Regions from separate parts of the Homo sapiens genome. Here regions 2, 3, 4, 5 and 6 are each linked to region 1. Evidence: promoter capture Hi-C in human tissues and cell types (Jung and others, 2019). All regions are on one chromosome and are shown on one strand. Each heading gives the region's core, a stretch centred on a gene start or on the middle of the fragment in contact. The rest is flanking DNA. Distances are from core to core; before and after follow the strand shown. Region 1 holds the start of EEF2K (eukaryotic elongation factor 2 kinase). Region 2 overlaps DCUN1D3 (defective in cullin neddylation 1 domain containing 3). Region 3 holds the start of NDUFAB1 (NADH:ubiquinone oxidoreductase subunit AB1). Region 4 overlaps DCUN1D3 (defective in cullin neddylation 1 domain containing 3). Region 5 overlaps ACSM3 (acyl-CoA synthetase medium chain family member 3). Region 6 overlaps LDAF1 (lipid droplet assembly factor 1).

Region 1 (2,797 bases), core at 95-2,594:
GGCCATCAGATGTCTCCCGGGGCCATAGACTATGACACTGTGTGCCAGGCACTGTTCCAAGCACCTGACATATACATACTCATCTACTCTTTCCAAGGATACTAAGTGGTAGATACTAATACTGTACCCATTTTACCGATGAGAAAACCGAGGGCCAGAGAGCATAAATGAGCTAGAATTCCAACCCAGGACTCCAGCCCTAGTGTTTCCTGCTTTCCTGGCTGAAGAAGCACCCACCACCGAGGTCCCAGAGGTCGGGCTCCCTGGGACCGTCCCCCTGGGCAGATCTCACTTCCCCATGCGGCCCATCTGTCACACTCAGGGCGCAGCTGGGCTGGTTCCCCGAAATCCCCCAGGCGCGCGCAAAAGGATCTAGGCCGGGGCTTACCCGGGAGGCCCCCACCCCCGCGCGGCCACCGGCTTATTAATGCCCAGCCCCTTGGCACACATGTCAGCAGCGCCTGCCAACAAACTCCCGCAGCCAACAATGCAGCAAGGGCGCGTCTATACAGTCCTGGAGGTTCCGGGAATTCGGGCTGACGCAGGCCTCTAGTTCAGGGGAAAGGTGGGGGATGCGGCTCTGAGCCCTGCAGGGGACAGGAAGGCAGCGATGCGCCCACACTCTAGGGGCCCCGAGGGGGGAGGCCCCCAAACTCTCTGTCACTTGCAGCCAGATCACCGCCCATTGCTTGCCAATTGCTTTCCATATCCACATCGCCTTTAATCCGCACAACTTCCCCATTTCTCCAAAGCAAGCACTTAGCCCCAGAGAGTTTAACAACCAGAGGAGAAGCGCCCCCACACTCTCCTTCCATGCCTTCTCCGGCCCCATTCCCAAGCCCAGACCCAGCACGCTCCAGACGCCAGCTGCACCCGGGCGCACAGGCCTGCAGCGCGGGCTCCCAGCCCCCCACAGCCTTGCCGGCCGCGGTCCACACCTACCTCCCTCGGGCAGACAGGCGCGGCAGCCGCTGCCCACGGCCGCGAGGGTCCAGAGGAGTTGGCAGAGGCTCGCGGCCCGGAGCTCCAGGGTGCAGGGCGGGCGGGCCCCCCGAGAGTGCCGGGGAGCGGAGAGCGGGGAGCGCTAGCTGGCGCTCCGGGCAAGCAGCTGGGGCCACGCGGGGTAGATGGACCGATCCCAGGGCGCGCGGGGCAGTCGGAGTGATCCCAGGAAGGGCGCAGGGGCCGTTGGGACGATCCCGGGATGTGGGAGCGCGTGCCAGGGGGGACTCGCGTGCAGGCGACAGCGAGCGGGACTCGGGTGGCTGCAGGGCCGGGAGTGCGGGCGCTCGATCCAGGAAGGAGGGGAGCTGAGGCTGAAGCTGGGGCTGGTCTAGGTTGAGCAGAAGCGGGCGGGCAGGGGCGGGGCTGGCCTGGCGGGCGCACGGCGTGGCGCTCACGTGGCCGCCCCCAGGTGGCCATCACAGCGCCTGCAGCCGCCTAGCGGGCCTCCTGGCTCCGGCGCTGGCTCCCAGCCCCAGGTGCAATGGTTAGCGCTAAGTCTTGGCTCCCCCTGCTGAGTACACAGTGTCCGGTTCTCCTGCTCAAGGCTGGCCTAGCATCCGGCAGCGAGGGGGCAATTCGAGGGAGTGACCAACTTCCGTCCTCTCCCGCCGCGCCTCGCCATTCTCGCCTGCTTCTCGCTTAGTTCCTGTATTCCTGTCCTTTCCAAAATCATTAGTGATCCAAGCCCATCGCTTGTTTGTATGTATCTCTATCCATAACCTTAAAATATTTTTTATCGGAAATACTTTGTTTTTCCTGATTTCTGCTTTGTAAAAACAGGCACGTATGACGATTGCAATTATTTGTGTAGTTTTAAAATTAGTATCTCCTTTAGTTATTCCTAACTCTTGACACAGGGCCTGGGTGGCACACAGTAGATGCTTAATAAATACCTGTGGCATGAGTGGTAGAGTGGCTAAGGTATAAAAAAGAAAACGAATTAAAACTAATAGCTACTGTGAACACTTTAATATTAGGTCCTTCCAGATACTTTGTTAGTGAAATTTTAGAAATTTCACACATTCTAGATAGAAAAGTAGTAACAATGACATGTTTTGAGGGATTTCTCTCATTCCATCTTCCCAGCACTTTGGGAGGCCGAGGCCGGCAGATCACCTGAGGTCAGGAGTTCGAGACCAGCCTGGCCAAAACGGTAAAACCCTGTCTTTAGTAAAAATACAAAAAAGCAGCCGGGCGCGCCTGTAGTCCCAGCTACTCTGGAGGCTGAGGCACGAGAATCGCTTGAACCCTGGAGGCAGAGGTTGCAGTGAGCCGAGATCGCGCCACTACACTCCAGCCTGGGTGAAGGAATGAGACTCCGTCGCAAAAAAACAAAAACAAAAAAATAAAAAAGAAAAAAGAACAAAACTGAGGCTTATAGAGATAATGACATGCCCCAGGTGAGGCAGCTAGAAAAGGCAGAGCCAGCAGTAAATCCAGACTTCTCTGATTTCAAAGTTCAGGCTCTCCAAAGAACTTTTTTCCTTATTTATAAACCCCAAAGAGAGTAAACTCCAGCTTTTGGCAAGACAAAATTGCACCTGGAATTCTGACCCTGGGGCCGTCAGGCAGGAAGGGAAGATCAAAGATGCTGAACTAGTCTGTCCAAGCCCAAAGCAAGATTGGAAAAAAAAAAAAGACGCTACTGCTTAAAGCTCTATGGCCCTTGGGCAAGTTATTTTACTTCTCTGAGCCTCTGTCATTTTTGTCTGCCCAGCAGGAGTGTCCTTCTTTGCATTAGCGTCTTGGTTAGTCTTCAGGGAACCAGTTCACCCTATTTCAGTTCAGGAAA
Region 2 (2,771 bases), core at 1-2,500, 1.3 Mb after region 1:
AGGGAACATACTTGGAATTTGTTTTTTTTTTTAAATCCTAAACCTGACAGTTCCTCCTTCAGAGGGGCAAATGGGAAACTTTAAGATCACCCACGGTATAGTACTGCTAGAAAGCTGAAGGGGGTCTTGGGCCAGATGCCTGGCTTCTGTTCTAGCTAAATAAGACTCTTGAATAAGTCTCCAGGGGTCCCAGCAGGTTCTGTGGGATCAGTTGTAGCTGGGTACCCAGACTGAGGTTTTAAAAAGACTGCTTTTTCATTAAGCCAGTTTGCAACTCATTTTCCCCGGTTCTGGATTGGGTAGTGGTTGACTGAGGGAAAAGCCAGGCTGCTCTTGGCCAGATAAGGCCCTTTCCATCCCAGATCAGAGTGTATCAGAGAAAGCTGCACAAAAGAGGCAGGCAGCCCAGGACCCTGAGTACTCTGGAGAAACTAGGTTCCTTCCCCACCCTTTAAGAAGACATTCCGTGCATTAGATGTACTAGAGTGGATGTATTTTGTTGTTTTTTAAATTAACTATTTAGCCTCCTCATCCCCCACCAAAAAAGCCATTTAGTTATTTTTTGGTTATATTGATCCATTTGCAAATGAGAAGCCAGAAAAGGGAGCAGTCAGGGAGGGACTTACAAGTTCCTTTCAAGTTTGAGTACTTGATGCTCAGCAAAGATTTCAAGCTTCTGCAGTAGCTCTGGGCCAATGCTTGACTCTTTCATGACCACAAGAAATGCAGTTTTTCTGCAAAGGGATCCAAGGTGAGGTGTGTGTAGGGTTTGAAGTTATACTTCTGGGAAGTGAAAAGTCTTGTTCCTTTCAACCTAGAAATAGGTTTGCCACTTAATGAGTGAGCAGTAAGTCTGTGTAAGAGGCTGAATGCATGCCCCTCAGATAAGCCAGTACACTCCTTGCTTAGCAACAGAACATCAGGGTGATGTGGAGAGGGGCAGGATGTGGACGCCACTTTGGAAATCGGCAACATCTGAGGGCAACAACAAACAAGTGTGTTGGGAAATAAGAAATAACTCAGTTTTGACAACTGGCTTTGTCAGCTTTTGTGATGTTTCTTTAGCAGTTTATTGGAAAGATGGTATGAGATGACGTGCTGCTTCATTGAATTGCTCTTTCCCCCATCTTTGCCAAATCTCAATGTATCGTTCTTAACCCCACCTCCTGTAAGGGGCTTTGCTATGCTTCAGCTGGTTGTCTCAGCAGCTGAAGTGCTGCCCACCTGTGTGAGTTGGGTCCAGGAAACCATGTCTGCCCTTCTGATAAGGGAAGATGAATCTAGAGCTGGGTGAAGATCTAAATTTTAACCAAACCCCTGGGCCCAGGAAAATAACAATTGAAAATGTACAAGGCAGTGTTTTCAATATTAAACTTCCCCAAGGAAAGCACAAACTAGTCTTTTTGGAAAGGGAGAAAGGATTAAGCCACACAGTATTAGTCTTTGAAGCAGTACTGGTCTCTAGGGGCTGGTGCCAAAATGGAGTCCCATAGTAGTTACACTCGATGGCCTCATGTACTATATACTGTGCCAAATTGTATTAAACAGTGGTGGGGAGTTACTGGGATAAGAACTTGTCTAAAAGTTTACAAACCAAAACAGATCTGTTAGGTTGGTGCAAAAGTAAGTTTTTGCCATACTTAATGTATTGCCATTAAGTATGGCAAAAACCACAATTACTTTTACACCAACCTATGTATTTAAGAATGTTTGGTTTGCCAGATTCCAAATGAGGTCTTCAGTGCAGCAAAGCCCAAAAGGTGTAGACTCAGTTATGCAATTATAAGGTTAAGGCGTAGAAGAAAGCTGCTGCTAGGTTTTTGTTGCATTTTACTTGACTGCTCTGCTGTTTTTCTTGTCTCTCATGTTTGGTTAGCTATGACTTGAGCATCTTGGTAACTGACAAAGGTCTTCCTTGGGGGACTTGAACATCTTGGTAAATGACAGGTCTTCTTGGAGGACTCCAGCAGTATCTTGTTTAAACGACTGAAAGGACTATTAAGGTTGTTGAATTGTGTTAATTGGGACTCATTGAGGAAATGCGACATTGATCCTCCTCTTATTCCACAGTGTGTTTTCTGATCATATAAAGAAGGTTCCGAACCATCCATCCCCCTCAGAGTTTATTCCCCTGGTAAGCTGTAATTGCATATCCAGTTTAAACTGGACTGGGACTGCATGTTGGTGAGGATCGGCAGGGGTTTTCCCCCTTTTCGAAAGATGAAATAGATTCTTGAGCACTGGTTGCAGAAGCCAAAATAGTTCAAATAGCTTTGCATAACCATTGGGTTCTGCTTCTGATTCAGGTGCTGGGCATCATGTCCTCCCTATTCTTCTCTTCTTGGAAACCCAGCCTATCTCATAAATACCTACTTCCGCCACCCATCCAACCTCCCTGCTCCTTTCAACACAAATCTTGGATATTGCCAAAGGAAGCCATTCAGCAGCTGCTGGGGTTTTTCATCCCCCTGACATGCATACATTTGCTCTGGGAGAAGTGTCTTCCCTCTGACCCTGGTCCCCAGCTCCGTCTGTGCTTAATTGCTCTTACCTGTTGCACTAATGAATATGACTAGGTTTTAAAGGGGGAATGTGAAGCAATAGGCACATGGGGCTTGGATGAATTGGTCCCACAGATATACCCTGCCTTAAGCCGCTGAGGTGATGAGTCCACTGCTCATGTGACCCTCCACCTTTGTGGATCCCTCTTGGTTTGTGACCAGTGTGTCTGTTTGTTGAGGTTGTACAAACTTGACAAAAGTTAATACTTT
Region 3 (2,771 bases), core at 267-2,766, 1.4 Mb before region 1:
CACCACCACACCCAACTAATTTTTGTATTTTTAGTAGAAATGGGGTTTCACCATGTTGACCAGGATTGTCTCGATCTCTTGACCTCGTGATCCACCCACCTTGGCCTCCCAAAGTGCTGGGATTACAGGTATGAGCCACCGCGCCTGGCAGCATACCATTACATTTTATTTTACTTGGATTTAACAAAAATAAAAAGAAATTGAGGTAAAACTGGTGACATTATTGGATCATTCATTCAGGCAGATTTCAGAATTTGGAGTCATTATCCCGTGTGTTTCCATTTCAGTCAATATCCTTTAGCTCCCTGCTTAGAAATAGGAATTAGCCTTCTTAAACTCCTCCCTCGCTTACCTATTTTTGTTAGCTATTGTAAGGAACATGGCTGTGCTTTGGTCAAGGATAGGCCAAGGTAAGATGTTTACATCCTGCGTGACTCAGCAAGTTTAGACAGAGGCGTATAACTCCACTTGTTATCACAGCCATGTAGGCATAACATGGGAAGGTCATCACTTGGCTCTAAGCCACTATTTTCTGTAAAAGGTATAATTGCCCTGCTGATACTGTACAGGCGTTCGTGCCCAGAGAAAGAGAGAGCCAGAGCTGTCAGTCTTTGCAGACAGACAGGGGGAGCCAGATCACAGCTGAGAGAGAGTTAAGCTGCTGACCCTGAAGGCAAGGGAGAGCCAGCCTCGCAGTTGTGTGGGGGAGCCATGGGACTAAGCAGCTGAGACAAGGCAGACAGTGTGAGAGAACTAGTGTAAGTAAGCTGCTGATGAGAGCTGCTGCTGAATAAAATCATCTTTCACCTGCCTACCGTCCCCTGAGTGTTCTTTCAGCTATCTGTTCATCCACCCACTCCCCTCAGACCTCGATATGGGCTGGAACCTGGCTGTGGGCATGACAGTTGGCATAGTCGTGGACCTGACAGCTATATTATACACTGTCAAGTTTTAAAACATGTATATTGTTTTAATCGTAATTCTCACATTTATTAGTCTTAGGTATTGAAATTGATTATTTTTTCACATTATTATATATATTTTTTTACCTATTCAATAAATGTTAATACTTGTGGAAGAATTGTGGAATCAAAACTTTGTCCTTTTTTTCTTTTAATCTTTTTTGTAATAGAGACGGAGTCTTGCCGTGTTGGCCAGGTTGGTCTTGAACTCCTGAGCTCAAACAGTCCTGCCACCTTGGCCTCCCAAAGTGCTAGGATTAAAGGCGTCAGCCACCGCACCCGGCCCCAAACGTTTAAACAGATGTATTTCAGAACTTTCAGATAAAAAATGAAAGTAGGTTTCTCGTGCCGTGTCGTTTAGGGAAAGACGGCGACGTCTGCACAGTTTAGTTGTGACACCAAGCAGTTGTTCGTCCCCGAACCTGGATGGGCTCCGAGGGCGCAGTGCCTCCAGGAGCCGCCAGGGGCCGCCACCGCCGGCGGTGCCCGACAGCGCTGCCGTGTGCGTCGCCTGCGCGCCGCCGGAAAGGAACCCTGGTCCGGAGGCGGCGGCGCAGTGCATCCTGGGTTGGCGTAGCCATGGCGTCTCGTGTCCTTTCAGCCTATGTCAGCCGCCTGCCCGCGGCCTTTGCGCCGCTGCCCCGGGTCCGGATGCTGGCCGTGGCCCGGCCTCTCAGCACCGCTCTCTGCTCCGCGGGGACCCAGACGAGGCTCGGGACTTTGCAGCCGGCCTTAGTGCTCGCGCAGGTGACTCGTGGTGACTTTGCTGCCGCTTGGCAAGGGTCAGGGATTGGGCCCGGTGGGGGTGGGGGCCGGGCATCCGGGGCGCGCCAGCTGCAGGCAGGGGTGACCCGGGGGGCAGCCGGCTCGCTCCGCAGCCCCGCTGCCTAAAGGTGTTTAGTTGACCCCTGACGGGAGGCCGGGTGACCTCGTAATAACGAGCAAGAGCACTGACTCGAGTCCAGCACTGCTGGGCTGCCGCTTACCGAAACTTTGGACAAGTCTCCTAGCCTGGCTCACACTCACCTGCAAAATTGGGATCCTGGTCTCTACCTTGCGGAGTAGCAATGAGGATTAGATGAGTTAATGCGGCTAGAGCACCTCGTACGGTCTCAAAATAGCGGTCACCGTATTGTAGTGAAAGCAGCATGCAAAGAGGCAGCCACACTGGCCTACAGCCTTCTCCAGAGCGGTTTTCTCTCTGCAGTTCTGTCCTTACTCTTCCCTGCAGCACCTTCTGCCTGTGTCCAGGACTCCTGGAAGTAATTCTAGGAAACAAGCCAAGTGACCTTTGACCAATAAGGATTTGAATTGCGCGGGTCCACTTATATGCGGATTTTTTTTCAACCAAACGCGACCAGTATTTACGGGATGTGCCGCCCCGCGTATAAGGAGGGCAGGCTCTTCCTATAAGCGGATTCTGCAAGGCTGACTGCGGGACGTGAGTGTGCGGGGATTTGGGTATAGTCGGGGGTCCTGGAACCAATCTGCGCAAATACCAAGGAACGACTGTACCTGTAGTATATAGCTTGAGCTGATGAAATCTGCGTGAGGCTGAAACGCCGGGAGGCAGTGATTTCGGTGTTGTTGTTGTTGTTTTTGAGACAGAGTCTCGCTCTGTCACCCAGGCTGTAATGCAGTGGCGTGATCTCAGCTCACTGCAACCTCCGGCTAACGGCAACCTCCGCCTCTCAGGTTCAAGCAATTCTCCTCCCTCAGCCCCCCCGAGTATTTGGGACTACAGGCGCCCGCCACCATGCCCGGCTAAGTTTTGTATTTTTAGTGGAGACGGGGTTTCATCATATTGGC
Region 4 (2,739 bases), core at 138-2,637, 1.3 Mb after region 1:
CTATTAGAGGGAGCAGGCAATAAATAAGTCAGCAAATTAGAATTTCACAGAGTTGTAAGTGCCGTGAAGAAGTAAAACAGCGTTGTGCTGAATTAGAGGGAAGTGGCATTTGGATTGGTTGAACATGGAACACATGTCAGCACGTGAACTGAGACCCATCTCATATGAAGCAGCCATTTATTCTTCACCGTGACCTTTTTTTTTTCATCGCAGAACTCAGTCCCATTTTTTTGTTAATTGATAAATAATATATGTAGTTTTGAGACATGTGATAATATGATACATTCACATTATGTGTAAAAATCAAATCAGGGTAATTGGGATATTATATCACCTTAAATATTTATCTTTTCTTTATGCCGGGATCATTTAAATTATTCTCTTCCACCTATTTTGAAATGTACATTAGATTATTGTTGACTGGAGTCACCCTACTGATTTTTCCAACGCTAGGTCTTACTTCTGTTTGTACCCACTAACCCACTTCTTTTCATCTCCCCTCCCGCTCCCCTTCCCTGCCTCTGGTAACTACCTAGAGAAGATAACTGTCTCTCTCTTCCTGAGATCCACTTTTTTAGCTCACACATGAGTGAGAACATGTGCTATTTGTCTTTCTGTGCTTGGTTTATTTCACTTAACGTAATGACCTCTAGTTCCAACCGTGTTGCCTATGACAGGGTTTCATACTTTTTTATGGCTGAATAATATTCCATTGTGTATATGTACCACATTTTCTTTATCCATTCATCCATGGATGGGCACTCAGGTGGATTCCATATTTTGGCTATTGTGAATAATGCTACAATAAACATGGGAGTGCAGATCTCTCCAGTATATTGATTTTCTTTCCTTTGCACATATACCTAGTAGTGCAATTGCTGGATCATACAGTAGTTCTATTTTCAGTTTTTTGAGGGCCCTTTATACTGTTTTCCATAGTGGCTATACTCATTAACATTTCCACCAACAGTATACGAGGGTTCCCATTTTTCCACATCCTTGCCATTCATTATTCTGTTTTTTTTTTTTTTCATAACCATTTTAACTGGGGTGAGATAATATTTCGTTGTGGCTTTTATTTACATTTCTGTGATGATTAGTGATGTTGAGCATTTTTTCGTATACCTGCTGGCTATTTTCATGTCTCCTTTTGAGAAACATCTATTCAGATCTTTTGCCCATTTAAAAATCAGATTAGAGTCGGGCACAGTGGCTCGAGCCTGTAATCCCAGCACTTTGGGAGGCTGAGGCAGGCGGATCACCTGAGGTCAGGAGTTTGAGACCAGCCTGGCCAACATGGTGAAACACTGTCTCTACTGAAAATACAAAAATGAGCTGGGCCTGGTGGCATGCGCCTGTAATCCCAGCTACTCGAGAGGCTAAGGCAAGAGAATCACTTGAACCTCGGAGGTGATTGGTTGCAGTGAGCCGAGATCATGCCACTGCACTCCAGCGTGGGTGACAGAGTGAGACTCTGTCTCAAAAAAAATAAATAAATAAAATAAAAATCAGATTATTATTATTATTATTTTGCTATTAAGTTGTTTGAGCTCCTTATATATTCTGGCTGTTAATCCCTCGTCAGATGGATAGTTTGCAGATTTTTTTTCCCATTCTGTGGATTGTCTCTTCACATTGTTGATTGTTTACTTTGCTGTGTAGAAGCTTTTTAGCTTGATATAACCCCATTTGTCTCTTTTTGCTTTGGTTGCCTGTGCTTTTAAGGTCTTACACAAAAAATCTTTGCCCAGACCAGTGTCCTAGATCATTTCCCCAGTGTTTTCTTCTAGTAGTTTCATAGTTTCATGTCTTATATTTAAATCTTCAATCCACTTTGATTTGATTTTTGTATATAGTGTGAGAGAGGGGATCTAGTTTTATTCTTCTGCATATAGTCATTTAGTTCACAGTGATTTGTTTTAGTTCCCGTTTTCAACTGAGAAGACTGAGATGGAATATGGTTAAGTGTGAGCTAGAGAGTTGGTAGAGCTGGGCTGTACAAACCTAGTCATTTTGCATCCAATGCATGTACTTTCCCTCCTGGAAGGCACATGACTATACTGGAGCAGCTGAAGGAGCTGCAATATCTGTGCAACTGGTTTTTGAGTGAGAGAATTGAATGTTGGTTGCAGAACAGTCAAGACACTGAACGCAATTCAGAAAAGTTGCATGTAATTTCATGGACCCCCTATTGTTGGATGCAACATTTGTGTGTGTGTGTGTGTGTGTGTGTGTGTGTGTGTGTGTGTGTGTGCATGAGCGCACGCAGTTTATTCTGGGGCCATAGTTGTCTTTGAGTCTTCAGACTTATTGATGACTGAAAGAACTTATGGTGCTGCTGCTTTATTTTATAAATTTTTTATGTTGTTTCTTAAAATAGGGCATAGCTGCTAGGGCAGGGTTTTAATAGACAGCATTGTGGTGGCCATTAGGTGGCAGCAATTTTGGCAGGTCATGTGGGTGGGAAGTGGGCAGGAACGAATCATCAGATGTCTTACTTTGCAAAGCTTGCAGTACCACAGTGCCTTCCAACAGGTATAGAGCTCCATTTTTAATTACCTGCTTATCTTTGCACATGTTAATGTACTCTGGGGCCTCATGCTACATGAGCATTTGTGAAAATAAGTAACTTAAAAAAAAAAATCAAAGCCTAAACCTTGGGGCCTCAAGTTTCAACCTGCAGAGAACGTATTCAAATAAAGATGTGCAAACATGAGCATTTCCTGTCAGTCTTTGAAA
Region 5 (2,700 bases), core at 42-2,541, 1.4 Mb after region 1:
CAGCCCGGAGCTGGCTATGGAATGATGCTTCCCTGTAGGCACAGTTCCAGGAGAGTCCCCTGAAGCTTTTTTATGATTAAGTATCCTGCACTTAGGTGCCTGAAATCTTATTAAATTCAAGGATTCGTTTGTCCAGCTTAAAGATAAGCTGGCAACATTTCCTATCCACTTTGATCTGGGAGTAAAGATTTCATTGAAAAGGAATTATTTGAAACAACAAATTACCAGGACAGCCATTTGGTGAGAAACAAAGACTTGAAGTTATAATTTTTTCACATATTGAAAACTGTTCACCAGTGGGCAGTTTTACATTGTATGAACAATTACCCATTTTTGTCTTTACCCAAAACCCTTGTGGCCAGGCACAGTGGGTCACGCCTGTACTGCCAACATTTGGGAGGCCGAGGTGGGAGGATTGCTTGAGCCCAGGAGTTCGAGAGCAGACTGGGCAACATAGTGAGACTTTGTCTCTAAGAAAAAAAACAACAACAACACTTGAACATTTTTAATTTACATGTGCCATGCGGCAGTTGTGAACCCTTGTGTGTGTGTGTGTCTATGGATATAATTTTGTTCCATTCACTTTTTGACATTTTATAAAATGCATTTGTAGTTATGCTAGCTCTGCTGCATTAACATTTTTACAAATTAAAAAATTATGCTTGTTGTAAGTGAGTCATTCAAAGGTAAATTATTTTAAAAACTGCAATACTGGTTCACATATTGACGATTTCTACAACTTGGATAGTCTCTTTTATCTTTTTAAACTACTGCAGAAAATGTTAAATTAACAAGGAACAACCTAACATGGGTAAGAGTATGAACTCTGAAGTCAGAACAGCTGGGTTCAAGTCACAGTTTGTTGTGTAATGTTGGACAAGTTAGGTAATCTCTTTGTGCCTCAGTTTCCTTCTCTGTAAAAGAGATTATGATGATTAAATGAATTAGCATAGATGTATAATGCCTGGCACATAGTAAGTCATCAAAAACATTAGCTCTTAGTTGTAGTCTTAGAATTACAAGAAGTTTGGGTCTTATTTTTTAACCCAGAATCCATAAGTGGGCTTCAAATCTCTATGAAATTCTATGCAAAATCTTGTATTTTTCTGAGAAAAGTCTATGGCTGTGCCATTCAATATGATAGCTGCTAGCCACGTGTGTCTATTTCAATTTAAATCAATTAAAATTAAATAAGATTAAATACTCTCAGTCACACTAGCCACATTTCAAGTGATTGATAGCCATGCATGGCTATCGCATTGGATGGTGCAAATATAGAACATTTCCATCACTGCATAAGTCTTAACAGTGGCCTATGGTTTTCTTCACATTCTCAAAGAGATATGTGATCCCAAAAATTTAAGAACCTAGTGATCTAGACACATATTCCACAAGTCTTTCACATTCCAATGTTAAAATGGTATTTCAAATCCAAATATTCTTTTTAATCAATTCTGGAACTTGCTACCCAATTACCCTGCCTGGCAGGACCCAGCCTAGAGAAGGACCTAACCCAGGTAGAATAGGCCTGGCAGCAGAAAGGGAGGCATGGAGCACATGGCCGTTTTGTTCATGGATACCTCGTTTGAGATACCCACTCACATCTTCTACTAGGAAATGCTGCAGCCTACCACTGTTGGAAAACTGGCCACACTTTCCCCCTCACTCTGACTAATCCAAGCCCTATGCCAAGCCCCCGGAGCTGTGAGGGGACCACAACCCACTTATAGACCTTTCCTATATTGTACGCTAGGATATCAGGTGGCTGCCAAGCTAACCCTGTTCCGAAAGGCTCAGCTACCATCCTGTCCCTAGTAAGCACCTGTCTAGGTGGGTAAAACTGATGATGACTAATGGTAGGGGAGAAGTACAGGAAGAGCTAAGACTCGTGAAACCTTGCCGATGATGTTCAGAGCAAAGAGACAAGCCAATAATCACTGACTGTTTTCCCTGCCCTCAGCTGCCTGGAATATACCCTTTCACAGTAAATAGCGATTGTCATCCTAGCAACTTGACAAACTACCAATTCCCAGCCACTGGGCTATATCTGGAACAACTTTGGGCCATCCAGGAGGACTTAACAGGGTATCTTCTGGCATCAAAGATCAGTTAGGGGAATCAGTCCTGGGGGGAGATCCACCCTCCACTGTAACATGCACATCTCCTATTTTTACCTTAAACTTTTTTATTTTTATTTTTATTTTTTTGAGGCGGAGTCTTGTTCTGTTAGCCAGGCTGGAGCACAGTGGCACGATCTTGGCTCACTGTAACCTCCCCGTCCCGGGTCCAAGTGATTCTTCTGCCTCAGATTCCCAAGTAGCAGGGATTACAGGCGTGTGCCACCATGCCTGGCTAATTTTTGTATTTTTAGTGGAGACAGGGTTTCACCATGTTGACCAGGCTTGTCTCAAACTCCTGACCTCAGGTGATCCACCCACCTCAGCCTCCCAAAGTGCTAGGATTACAGGTGTGAGCCACTGTGCCTGGCCTGCCTTAAACTTCAGGACCTATTTCATCCCCTGAGATTGGATACCTTCTAACTCTGCCCTGTGCCCTGTGCTTGAAGCCCTATACCTAGGATTTGAGATAAGGAGCTTGAATACATGGTACAGAAAGTTCTGGATTTGTATTGACATCAGTGTCATCTTCAAAACTTGGATTCAGTGTTAGAAGGGATATGGCTTGAAGAAATACTTGTGA
Region 6 (2,771 bases), core at 172-2,671, 1.0 Mb after region 1:
AGCTGCAGGCCCTGGAAGGTCTTGCAGTCTCCATAACCAAGCAGTGTGGTTTTGCCCCTCAGAGGCTAGCTGATCTACATAGGAGGCAGGTCAGTGTATTTGATCTAAATATTGTTTAGTTGGGTTTCATATGTAAGGGAAACTTACAGTTTTGTTTCCTTTTTCTTTTCTTTTTTAAAAATTTAAGCTGTATTATCTTTTATGTTTTAGGGCCAAAATTCCATTAAATCATGAAATAAATTATATAGCTCCTCTTCCCCCCATTCCATGCTTTCGATCATTTAATGAGGGAGTTATCTTTTTTTGAGTTATAAAGAATTCACTAATGCAGGCTGGGTACAGTGGCTTACACCTATAATCCCAGCATCTTGGGAGGCTGAGGTGGGTGGATCACTTGAGCTCAGGAGTTCAAGACCAGCCTGGCCAACATGGTGAAACCCCACCTCTACTAAAAACACAAAAATTAGCCATGCATGGTGGTGCACACCTATAATCCCAGCTACTCGGGAGGCTGAGACAGAAGAACTGCTTGAACCCAGAAGGGAGAGGTTGTGTGAACCAAGATCAAGCCACTGCACTCCAGCCTGGGTGAGAGTGAGACTCGTCTCAAAAAAAAAAAAAAAAAAAAGAATTCGCTAATGCAAGGGTTCTCAGATGAAAACCATGTTCACAATAACATGACCTATTATATGCCTTTTTCACTCACATTCTCTCACAAGGGAACAGTGCAATTTTTCAAAATATATTTGGAAGATCTGCATGACTCAATGAATTGATATTCTCCCATTGACCAATGGGTAAAGTTAGAAAATCATGCATGATAAAGATCAATTTAAAGTGTGACACAGACCTGAAGATTTCAATAAAATAGAGTAGAAAAATTTCACATTTCAGCTAACCTTTAAGAAACTATCACTTACGGAGTTTTGGTGGACTATCATAGAATATCCACAATCGTTTAAAAAAGCTTTGCCTCCCTCTCCCAACCGCATGTTAGTGATGCTAGGTCTTCTTCAAATACTCCAAACAGGACAACATAGCACAACAGAATGAATGCAGCCACACAAACGAGAAGCCGGCTGACAACTGTTAAGGCAGATATGAAAGAGATCTGTAAAATGTAAAATAATACCACTCACAAATTTCATTTTGTTTTGGAAAATATAGTTACTTTTCATTAAAATTTGTTATTTATATCAACAGGTAATATTGTTCCTTTTAAATGAATAGATATTTTTAAAATTTATGCTATGATTTCTCATAGAATAATTATTTCAGAACAAGAAACAATGAGGAAGAAAATTTTTTAAAAAGAAATAATTATTAATATTCTTTTTTTTTTTTTTTCCAGACAGAGTCTAGCTCTGTCACCCAGGCTGGAGTGCAGTGGTACAATCATAGCTCACTGCACCCCCAACCTCCCAGGCTCAGGCCATCCTCCCTCCTCAGCCTCTTGAGTAGCTGGGACCACAAGCATGCACCAGCTAATATTTAATTTGATTTAATGTAATTTATGTTATGTTTATTTTAATTTATTTTATTGTATATAGTTTTATGTCATGTTAGTTATTTATTTTATATTTCAGCTCATTTCATTTGTTTTTTGAGACAGGGTCTTGCTCTGTTGCCCAGGCTGGAGTGCAATGGTGTGATCACAGCTCACTGCAGCCTTGAACTCCTGGGCCCAAATGATCCTCCCATCTCAGCCTCCTGAGTAGCTGGGACTACAGGCACGCACCACCACAGTTGGCTAATTTTTGTATTTTTTGTAGAGATGTGGTCTTGCCATGTTGCCTAGGTTGGTCTTAAACCCCTGGCCTCAAGTGATCTTCCCTCCTTGGCCTCCCAAAGTGCTATTAATACAATTAACCACATAAATAACATCTCTTCAGATGCCTCAATAATTTTTAAGAAGGTAAAATGGGACTTGAGAACAAAAAGCTTAAGAACCTCTGCCCACGTGGAAACAATTGGTTGGCAGCAATAGGGGAAGATAAGGAGATCAAGTACAAATCCTGGATTTGTTTTTCAATTTCTTCATTGATAAGTAGGGAGTCAGATTCTGCTACTTCCTGTGGTATAATCTTTAAGAACTCACCCTGTTACAGCAGCGTTCAGAGGCAGGGAGGAATTTTATTTCAGAAGCATCACCCTCAATATGCAAAATAGGCCAATATTTCTCCTTTTACATCTTTTAAGACTGGGAGTGAGTTAGTGCCTTACGCCTATAATTCCAGTTCATTGAGAGGCCAACGGGGGAGGATTGCTTGAAGCCAGGAGTTTGAGAATGGCCTGGGCAACACAGCAAGACCCCATTTTATAAGTAAAATACAAATGAACAAACAAAAGACTAAGAGTGATCAAAGCGATTTTTGAAAAGGTGATTATGACTCCAGGGTTGATTCAATTAAGCAATCCTATAAGAGCCATCCTTGAGCAATTTTATATTATACCCACTTCACCCTTTATTTTTCAACATAGGAATAATAACAGGATAAACTTTTGGTAAGGAGTTCAAGGGCTGTTTTGTAGAAAAACAAAACTCAGGATATCAGTTCTTATAGAGCAATGGTTGGCCAAATCCAGCAAGCTGCCTGTCTTTGTAAATAAAGTTTTACTGGAACACAGCCATGCCCATGCATTTACTTCCTGGTCTGTGCTGCCTTCATGCTACGGCAACAGAGTTGACTAACTGCAGTAGAGACTATATTATTTACTAAATACTTACTATCTGGCCCTTTCCAGAAATTCCAGTAGAGACTATATTACTT

Evidence for each region. The method cuts DNA at HindIII sites, captures the fragments that hold promoters and counts their contacts. A contact is called where the count stands out against the background at its distance.
Region 2: a fragment that was not itself captured here is called in contact with the fragment with the promoter of EEF2K in region 1 in 1 of the 25 tissues and cell types used here (lymphoblastoid cells).
Region 3: a contact is called between the fragment with the promoter of NDUFAB1 here and the fragment with the promoter of EEF2K in region 1, in 1 of the 25 tissues and cell types used here (IMR-90 fibroblasts).
Region 4: a contact is called between a fragment that was not itself captured here and the fragment with the promoter of EEF2K in region 1, in 1 of the 25 tissues and cell types used here (spleen).
Region 5: a fragment that was not itself captured here is called in contact with the fragment with the promoter of EEF2K in region 1 in 1 of the 25 tissues and cell types used here (lymphoblastoid cells).
Region 6: a contact is called between a fragment that was not itself captured here and the fragment with the promoter of EEF2K in region 1, in 1 of the 25 tissues and cell types used here (mesendoderm cells).

The regions. Positions count from the first base shown.
Region 1 is chr16:22,204,825-22,207,621 of GRCh38, reverse strand. EEF2K (eukaryotic elongation factor 2 kinase) reads right to left here and starts at 1,344. Exons shown (of 18, transcript NM_013302.5): 1 at 943-1,344. RefSeq lists silencers at 844-1,113, 1,274-1,573. The HindIII fragment of the contact is 13,900 bases long and covers 1-2,797 here.
Region 2 is chr16:20,855,086-20,857,856 of GRCh38, reverse strand. It overlaps DCUN1D3 (defective in cullin neddylation 1 domain containing 3), which reads left to right. Exons shown (of 3, transcript NM_173475.4): 3 at 1-2,771. Among named protein-coding and RNA genes, the nearest start is that of DCUN1D3, 44 kb to the left of the region's middle. The HindIII fragment of the contact is 5,933 bases long and covers 1-2,771 here.
Region 3 is chr16:23,595,061-23,597,831 of GRCh38, reverse strand. It overlaps NDUFAB1 (NADH:ubiquinone oxidoreductase subunit AB1), which reads left to right and starts at 1,516. Exons shown (of 5, transcript NM_005003.3): 1 at 1,516-1,709. The coding sequence starts at 1,542. RefSeq lists a silencer at 1,769-1,858. The HindIII fragment of the contact is 9,015 bases long and covers 247-2,771 here.
Region 4 is chr16:20,874,726-20,877,464 of GRCh38, reverse strand. All of the region lies in intron 1 of DCUN1D3 (defective in cullin neddylation 1 domain containing 3), which reads left to right. Among named protein-coding and RNA genes, the nearest start is that of DCUN1D3, 24 kb to the left of the region's middle. RefSeq lists a silencer at 1,807-1,886 and an enhancer at 2,533-2,739. The HindIII fragment of the contact is 5,197 bases long and covers 1-2,739 here.
Region 5 is chr16:20,792,976-20,795,675 of GRCh38, reverse strand. The region is part of intron 12 of ACSM3 (acyl-CoA synthetase medium chain family member 3); the gene reads right to left. It also overlaps a transcript of ERI2 not described here. Among named protein-coding and RNA genes, the nearest start is that of ERI2, 12 kb to the left of the region's middle. The HindIII fragment of the contact is 5,019 bases long and covers 1-2,700 here.
Region 6 is chr16:21,175,477-21,178,247 of GRCh38, reverse strand. The region is part of intron 4 of LDAF1 (lipid droplet assembly factor 1); the gene reads right to left. Among named protein-coding and RNA genes, the nearest start is that of LDAF1, 18 kb to the right of the region's middle. The HindIII fragment of the contact is 5,741 bases long and covers 1-2,771 here.